Regions from separate parts of the Homo sapiens genome. Here region 1 is linked to region 2. The links are contacts of gene promoters, found by promoter capture Hi-C in blood cells and fetal thymus (Javierre and others, 2016). All regions are on one chromosome and are shown on one strand. The core of a region is centred on a gene start or on the middle of the fragment in contact, and the rest is flanking DNA. Distances in the headings are between cores, read along the strand shown.

Region 1 (4,285 bases), core at 333-2,832, 90 kb before region 2:
GTTTGAGGCTGTAGTGAGCTATGACTGCACCACTGCACTCCAGCCTGGACAACAGAGATAGACCCTGTCTCTAAAAAAATAAAAAAGAAAATAATGAGGATATAGAAGAATTGAACAACACCTTCAACCAACAGGATCTAACAGAACAAACAACCCTATAACAGCAGAATACATGTGCTTTTCAAGTGCCTAGGGAGCATTCACCAAGATTAACCATGTCCTGGATTTTAAACCAATCTCAACAAATGCTAAAAAAAAATAATAAAACTAGAAATCCCTAATCACTGCCCTCTTTTCCAAGCTGCCTGTGACTCTTACCCAGATGTTCTCAATACATAAGCTTTCAACAGGGGAGAATGATAGAAATTACTGGAGAACCCCCATTCCAGGTCACTGAGGCACATGACCTTCTACTAAAGAAATAATTTCCAGTAAAAGGATACAATAAAGGGAATAGATGTTCCCACTAGGCCTGGATTAATGAGTACTCTATCTTGGAGAAAAGTGATTATTTCCAGAGCTGCCTCTGGCATTCTTCCTCCACCCAGAAGTGATGCTGTGAGAAGTGAAATTACTTATAAATCAGTAGTGCCCAAAGCACTTTATAAAGGAGGTCCCACATGTAAGCTCCACCAAGTATAAATAATAACACTAATAACACCTCCCTCATCTTGTCTTTATATCTGGGTCTTGGAGGATCAAAGCCATCCGAGAGGTACAGCTTCAAAGGCGTCTCCTTCCCAGATCCAGGAATGGGCGCACTCCAACAGGCCCCTACATCCTTGGCTTCCACATTTCACAACTGTTAGAGGCTCCAAAGCATTTACAGTGGTTGATAGAGTCTTTCTGAATATGATACCTCTTTTATAAAATTAATGGCACTATTTCCGGTGGTGGCATCAGCAAAGAAACTCCTTTTCAAGGGCAGCGTGTCCCTCCCATTGTTTGATTTTCTGCCATCCCTTTAAGTGCCTTAATGGAATGCTTGTACGAATAAAGTTGACTGCCAACAAATTTTGCTTTGAATATCTTTTACATTTCAAGGCACCCCTGGAAATAATCGGAGACTATGGGAGACATGGAATTAGGGAGCTGTGGGAAAGCAGGGTTGACAGTGTCATCTCAAGATTTGGTGGACTTCATTATTCAGTGGCCAGAAGTAGGGAGGAGGGGAGTCTGGGGCCTGAGAAGAGGGTTGCCCTGATGGGCTGGTACTGGCTCTGGAGTCACTGACTGTGCCAGGGACCAGATGCCTGCAGAAGCATGGTTCAGCGTTATACCTGCAGGGAGACGAATCACCCAAGAGTGTCTAAAACCATCCTCATAGGGATTTGTGGAACTTCAAACTTGAGAGAGATGATTTCGGGTATCTGGTGGAAGAAATTTCTAAGCAGCAAAGCATTCAAGAGGAAGCAGAGCATGGAAATTTGGAAAATTTGCAGCCTGAACATGGAATAGAAAAGAAAAACCCATTTTCTGGGGAGAAATTTAAGCCTGCTGCAGAAATTTGCATAAGTAACGAGGAGCCAAATTTTAACCTCCAAAACAATGGGGTAAGGTCTCCACGGTATGTCAAAAACCTTCATGGCAGCCCCTCCCATCACAGGTCCAGAGGCCTAGGAGGGAGAAATGGTTTCCTGGGCTGGGCTCAGGGACCCCTGCTGTGTGCAAAATAGGGACTTGGTGCCCTGCATCCCAGCTGCTTCAGCTGTGGCTAAAAGGGGCCAGAGTACAGCTCAGTCTGTAGCTTTAGAGGGTGTAAGCCCAAGCCTTGGCAGCTTCCACATAGTGTTGAGCCTGCAGGTACACAGAAGTCAAGAATTGAGGTTTGGGAACCTCTGCCTAGATTTCAGAGGATGTATGGAAATGCCAGGATGTTCAGGCAGAAGTTTGCTGCAGTGGTGGAGTCCTCATGGAGAACCTCTGCTAGGGTAGTGAGGGAGGGAAATGTGGGGTCAGAGCCTCCACACAGAGTCCTTAATAGGGCACTGTCTAGTGGAGCTGTGAGAAGAGAGCCACCATCATCCAGACTCCAGAATGGTAGATCCACCAACAGCTTGCACCATGTACCTGGAAAAGCCACAGAAATGCAGTGCCAGTTTGTGAAAACAGCCAGGAGTAGGGGACAGTACCCTGCAAAGCCACAGAGGTGGAGCTGCCCAAGGCTGTGGGAACTTACCTCTTGCATCAGTGTGACCTGGATGTGAGACATGGAGTCAAAGGAGATCATTTGGGAGCTTTAAGGTTTAATGACTGCCCTATTGGATTTCAGATTTGCATGGTGTCTGTAGCCCCTTAGTTTTGGCCAATTCCTCTCATTTGGAATGGGTATATTTACCCAGTGCCTGTACCCCCATTGTATCTAGGATGTAACTAACTTGTTTTGATTTTACAGGCTCATAGGAGGAAGAAACTTGCCTTGTCTCAGATGAGACTTTGGATTTGGACTTTTGGGTTAATTCTGGAAAAAGCTAAGACTTTAGGGTACTGTTGGAAAGGCATGATTGTGTTTTAAAATGTGAGGACATAAGATTTGGGAGGGGCCAGGGGTGGAATGATATGGTTTGGCTTTGTCCCCACTCAAATCTCATCTTGAATAGTAGTTCCCATAATCCCCATGTGTTGTGGGAGGGATGCAGTGAGAGGTAATCGAATCATCGGGGTGGTTTCTCCCATGCTGTTCTTGTGATAGTAAGTGAGTTCTCACAAGATCTAGTGGTTTTATAAGGACCATCCCTTGTAAGGGTTTTCCCCCTTTGTTCAGCACTTCTCCTTCGTGCCTCATGTGAAGAAGGATATGTTTGCTTCCCCATCCACCATGATCGTAAGCTTCCTGAGGTCTCCCCAGCCCTGCAGAGCCATGAGACAATTAAACCTCTTTCTTTTATAATAATAATAATAATAAAACCATCCTCATAGGGTTAACAAGAATTTAGATGCCAGGTTTGGGGCAGAAATATAGTTATAATTAAGCATTAATCAGGCTGCACTCTGGCCCACTTCCTTAAACTGAAAGTCATGCAGCTCAAGATACTGACTGTTTAAATCCCATTTTCCCCATAGATAGGACTTCTGATGTTAGAATCATTAGGCTTTTGTTTAAGAATTGCTCAAGATATTCTTCATATCCTGAATTCCATCAGGAAAGGCTGATGCCAATGAGTTTGAAGACCCCACGAGGAACCAAATCAGCATGAGAATGCAGTTTCTTCATCTCCCTGTCCTATGACTTCACCCTGCACTCTTCCACCAATCAACAATCCCCACATCTCAGCCCTTTCCAAAGCCCTTAATATCCGTAGCTCCAAATTCCTTAGGTTGGTGGATTTGAGGTTTCTTCCCACCTCCTCATTTAGCTCTCCTATGATTATTAGACTTTTTCTCTGCAGCAATCCCCCTTGTCTTGTTATATTGACTTGCCAGGCATTGGGCAAACGATCCTGTTACATATCCACTGAGCCATATGTGGAAGCCTCGGCCAGTGCCAGTCAATATCAAGGAATTTGGTCCATTTCTAGATAAGAATTTGGGGTTGTTGATTAGTTGGGATAAGGGGAAGGAAATCATCAGGATGTGGAAACTGCATTCTTTGGTGACTCAGCTCCTGTGAGGTCCTTAAGACCAGCTGGCATCAGTAGTTTCATTGGTATGCAGAAACTGAAAGAGTATCTCAAATGGAAAAGTTAATGTTTTATAATGTTGAAGTTGTTATCTATAGAGCAGCTAAGGGGAAGGATCATCTCGTAACAGGGTTCATGTAATCCTGAGTCGATAGGCCCCAGACAGCTGTGAGGAAGTGGATCAGAGAGCAAGCGGACCTCATGGTCAATGCTGAGTGTGCTGCAAGCTTGGTTTATCTTCATTTCTCCCCCTTCCTTCTTTCCTGATTAATTTTATAAAGTCTATAGGGACAGTTTCACCACTTAGATGTTCCCATCCCTCCTCTGCTGTCATCTCTCTAGGCTGGAACCCCATTGTGCATGGGCTCAGCATACCCTTTGGCCAGATAATGGGAATGGTGGTCTGTTCCCACCTGCTCCCACCTCTGTAGCGACTTTTCTCTAGCAATTAACCCCTCTCTTTCCTGTGCCATCAACTGTCCCCATAAACCAACTCCTCCCCAGCATTCAAACATCTCCCCCATCTTAAAAAAACAAAACTGATCTTGATTCCCATTCTGGAAGCGGCCCCTTCCCCTCCTCCCCAAATAACTAAACTTACTTAAGAGTGCCCTGCATCCAGCCTGCATTCCCTCCTCACCCAGCAGAGCTGCACCTGTGGAAAG
Region 2 (4,038 bases), core at 1,336-3,835:
GGACAAGGGAGTACTCTCAGGCCTCTATTATAAGGGCACTAATCCCAATCATAAGGGCTTCACCCATATGACCTAATCACCTCCCAAAGATCCACCTCCATTACCATTACCTCGGGGGTGAGAATTTCAACATATGAGTTGTTGAGGGACACAAGCATTCAGACTGTAACAGCTGTTTAGGTAGCTACACAGCTAAATAAGTATTATTTTCCAAATCACATTTCAGCGATTTCTCTACCATTAGGCCATGGGCCAGCAATGGAACCTGGCTTATCCTTCTTGTGTTCTTCTTTTCCTGGCACAAATATGGTTGGTAATCTTGCCAAACAGTAATCTCCCTGGTATAGTTAATTTGGCCTGCTAGGTTATATCCAAACGATCACTGTATTCACCTATAAATGCTCTCAAACTGGTCCAAGGTCTAATCAAAGCTGGAAATTGATCAAATAATGACCCATTCATGCATTCTAGAATTCAGCCATTCCCTGTTGCGTTTTTAGAAACTGGCATAATTTTCTATTATTTACGCGATCTAGAGAACTATGTCATAGACCCCTGCATCATAGAACACCCAGATCTGTGGTCTCCATCTCATTCTTCCTGCTTTCTCAAAGATGATCTACACACAGTTCTATTTCCCAGACTATATAATATAATCCACTTTATGTAACATAGTGTAATTCACTTGGCCCTGGTCTCTCAGTTCTTTTGAAGAAATGAATGTTCTCACACTAATTCCTTGGTCTGTTTGTCGATCTTTACAGGCAGGGAGGGAGGATGCGAGGCAGCATTGGGTCGGCTCCACATTCTCCACATCTGCTTATTGTTTTCTTGCCTTGTTTGCAGCTTCCAGAGCTCCTCCCTGCTTCTGTAGCAATTTCAGTCTTCCCCATTCCTCTGTGCCTTTGTAAACAGCCTTTTGTTCACTAACAAGAGGAATCTGCTGCCACGTCAGCTCTAAACCAACCTCCCACCATTCTCTGGGTAAAGTCCTGCTTAGAAAGGGAATAGGAAGAAGAGGGGTGGAGGGGGTTGGAGATGATTGTGTCTAGTGGGAACAGGCAGGGGGATAGTGCACAGAGTTCACAATGGGACAACGAGCCTGCCGAGGCTGCACTGCCGGCCTGGCTGGGTGACCTTGAGCCTATCTGGGCCTGTGAGCTCACCATGCAAAGGAGCTGGACCACAGAATTCTGAGTCCTTTCTAGCTCTAAACACTGTGGCCCTAAGTATCTATATGTGAAACAAAATTGTCCTGACATTTGTCTCTGGGTACTGAACTATTAGGAGATTTTGATTTTTTCATCTCCATTTTGCAAACAGTCTGTACTAAGATTACACTACTGTGTTTCTGTTTTGTGTGTATTCAGAAGCACAAAAAGTCTGTGGTTCTAGAAAGGAAATAGAAAAGTTCTTAAAAAAAAAAAAGTGGGGAAGTGAAACAAATGTTAAAGTCAGAGGAGAAAGAAAGGCCCAACCGGAGGCCCCAAATCCACCCAGAGCCCAGAAGCCCGGGTTTCCCACCGACCGGCTGCGGTCTTTGTCAGCTCTCTGGCGCTATCTGCTGTCCTTCTCGATAACAACCGTTTAATTTGGTTTGCAAAATTGCTCTGACGCAAATCCACCGTGAACACTGACGGGGTCACATTCAGCATAAAAATCGCATTCTGTTTACAGGAAAATCTGGCCCCATACTTGCTCCCATATTCACTTTTGACTTTGCCTTGCAGTACTAACTGTAACAGGGACACCTGAGCAAGTCCCTTCTGTATAAGGCCCAAAATGGTCACCCAATACCAATGAGTCTCTTGCTTTGGAAAGCCCAGGAATGCACCTCCAGCCCCTTCTGCGCAGCGCTCGGACACCATGTAGAGGAGAAGGCACTCTGCAGAACTCGCCCTCAGCCCGCACCACCTGTCCAGGGGACTGGCTGCGTGTCAATGTGTCTCTGCTCCCGGGGTTCCCGCAGATCTTTAACTTATTGGCCTTTGGGCTAATTCAGTCCTTCAAGCATTCCTCGCCCAACATGCCAGGAAGTCTTCTCACGTGTCTTCCACCCCATACCTACCAGTTCTGTTTTCCCACTACCCGATGAAAGTGTAACCGCCCCCCGGCGCCCCCCCCCCCCACCACCACACACACACCCTGTTGGTCCCATCCTCAGGGCGTGGTGGTCCAGGTGAACGCTTGCCCTCTTTTTGAGCTGAACCTCCCCACAGAGGCTGTCAGCAAAGACTGCTTTGCTGTCCAAGGCCGGCCTTTAGGTACAGGACACTATGCATGTCCAGCGAGGCTTGTTGAAGCCACATCTGTCATAGATATTGATGGGAAAAGCATTTTCCTTCTAACACATCTCATTCCAATTCTAAAAGGCACCTCTGAAGCCTTGCTGAACTTCATCAAGATTTTCACGTGGTTTCCTTAGTAAAGTGTGATGAGAAGGTCCATCCTTCTCAGGATGAAGGAGTGGTCCAGGAAGCCCTGATTGGTCTGCCGGGGAGGGAAGGGCTGCCTTATTTGGAGACCTGCAGGAATGCCACCTCCCCCGGCAGCTCCTATATAGCTGGGCGGACCTGGCTGCCAAGAGGGTGTGCTGGGGGACTGTGCAGCTCGAGGCTCCAGAGGCACACTCCAGAGAGAGCCAAGGTACGTGGGGGGCCACTTCTGTGGTCAGGACTGCTGGTTTCTTATCAAGGCTCGATCCCAGATTGAAAATCATGCAATGATTTCTTTACTCCCACACCTGGGGATGGGTCCCAAGTTCAGGGTAGACTTGCGAGGATACCCAGTCATCACTGGGCTTGCCTTTCTCTAAGTTGGTGCTATAATAAAATGCTACTTTAGGGTTTGTGGGTTGGGATTTTGTTTTGCCTTTAAGCTTCTGCCTATGAAAACTAATCTCTTTCTCAAGAATGCTGTGCTTTTATTTTTTTTATTTGACTCACCTGAAATGATCTATTATGCCATTAATCTTATTTAAGATTTCTCCTTAAAAAAGGAATGATGTGGAGTATGGCCCTATTTAGGAGACTAATGAATATTTGCTTCATGCTTGGATCTCTTTGGAGAAAGTCAGTCTGAGTTCACTGTGCTCAGGAGGCAGAGAGAGTGGGGTGAGGGGGTCCAGATGCTCATAGCCACCCTGGGACAAAGACGAGGCGATGTCTACAAGCAAGGAAAGGTCAGTGAGGCCTCTTTGCAGGCTTCTAGAGATGACTGGATGTGCTTCTAGAGATCACTTCAGCTGTGTTTTGCCTTTTTTTTTTAATATAAGGAGCAATGTGGCATCAGAGTTGAACATTTTATCAGAGGAACATTAGCCACTTTTAGGGAAGCTGCAGCAGGGTGGTGGAGGGTGTGTGAGGGGCGAAACAAGCTCCCTGTCAGCCTCCTCCAGCTCTGGGGCCCCATGGCCTCACAGTAAGTCTTTGCCTAGGAGACAGCTTAGGCAAGCTCCGGTATGGGAACTCCTTCCATTTCCCTAATCCACACAGGCAAAGACCCAGGTGCTAGAATGCCCTGACAGTCGGCCTTGGGAAGTGGATTTCCTTGATGGCTATTGTAGATTCAGGAGCCGAATGTGACAGGCAACCTTAAGGTGTGGGGTGAGGGGCTTTTCCATGACATCAGTGGCAGCCCTTCGGATGTCCCAGGGCCACCTTGACCCGGGACCCTCCTGGTGTTCCCCCAGGCCCTCCTGTCTTCCCTTTCATCTCGTTTTCTCCGAAATTCCTCAAGGGCCCTGCCCTTTGCCCTTTGCCCAGCTCAGGGGGCATCATACCCAGTGAGTGAAAAGCACAGTGTGTGAGCACTGTCTTCTCCTGAAACCCAGATGGGCAGTGGGGCATGGCTAGTGGACACATGCAGTGCAGCATTAGACAGAGCCCAGTGCAGGTCTGCCACCTCCCCGCTGTGCAGCCTTGGGCAAATTACTTAACTTCTCTGAATCCCAGGACAACATTTATAACATGGGGATAATAATGTACCTACTCTATGTGAGAATTAAGTTAGGCAATGTCAGAGAAGAGCTTAACACGG

The links. Contacts are between HindIII fragments. The CHiCAGO score rates a contact against its expected background, and 5 or more counts as called.
Region 1: a contact is called between a fragment that was not itself captured here and the fragment with the promoter of PRND in region 2, in 1 of 17 cell types (M0 macrophages). The highest score is 5.4, in M0 macrophages.

Annotation. Positions count from the first base shown.
Region 1 is chr20:4,630,342-4,634,626 of GRCh38, forward strand. No RefSeq gene overlaps it. Among named protein-coding and RNA genes, the nearest start is that of PRNP, 54 kb to the right of the region's middle. The HindIII fragment of the contact is 2,489 bases long and covers 339-2,827 here.
Region 2 is chr20:4,719,324-4,723,361 of GRCh38, forward strand. It overlaps PRND (prion like protein doppel), which reads left to right and starts at 2,586. Exons shown (of 2, transcript NM_012409.4): 1 at 2,586-2,646. RefSeq lists an enhancer at 1,289-1,508. The HindIII fragment of the contact is 8,148 bases long and covers 1-2,876 here.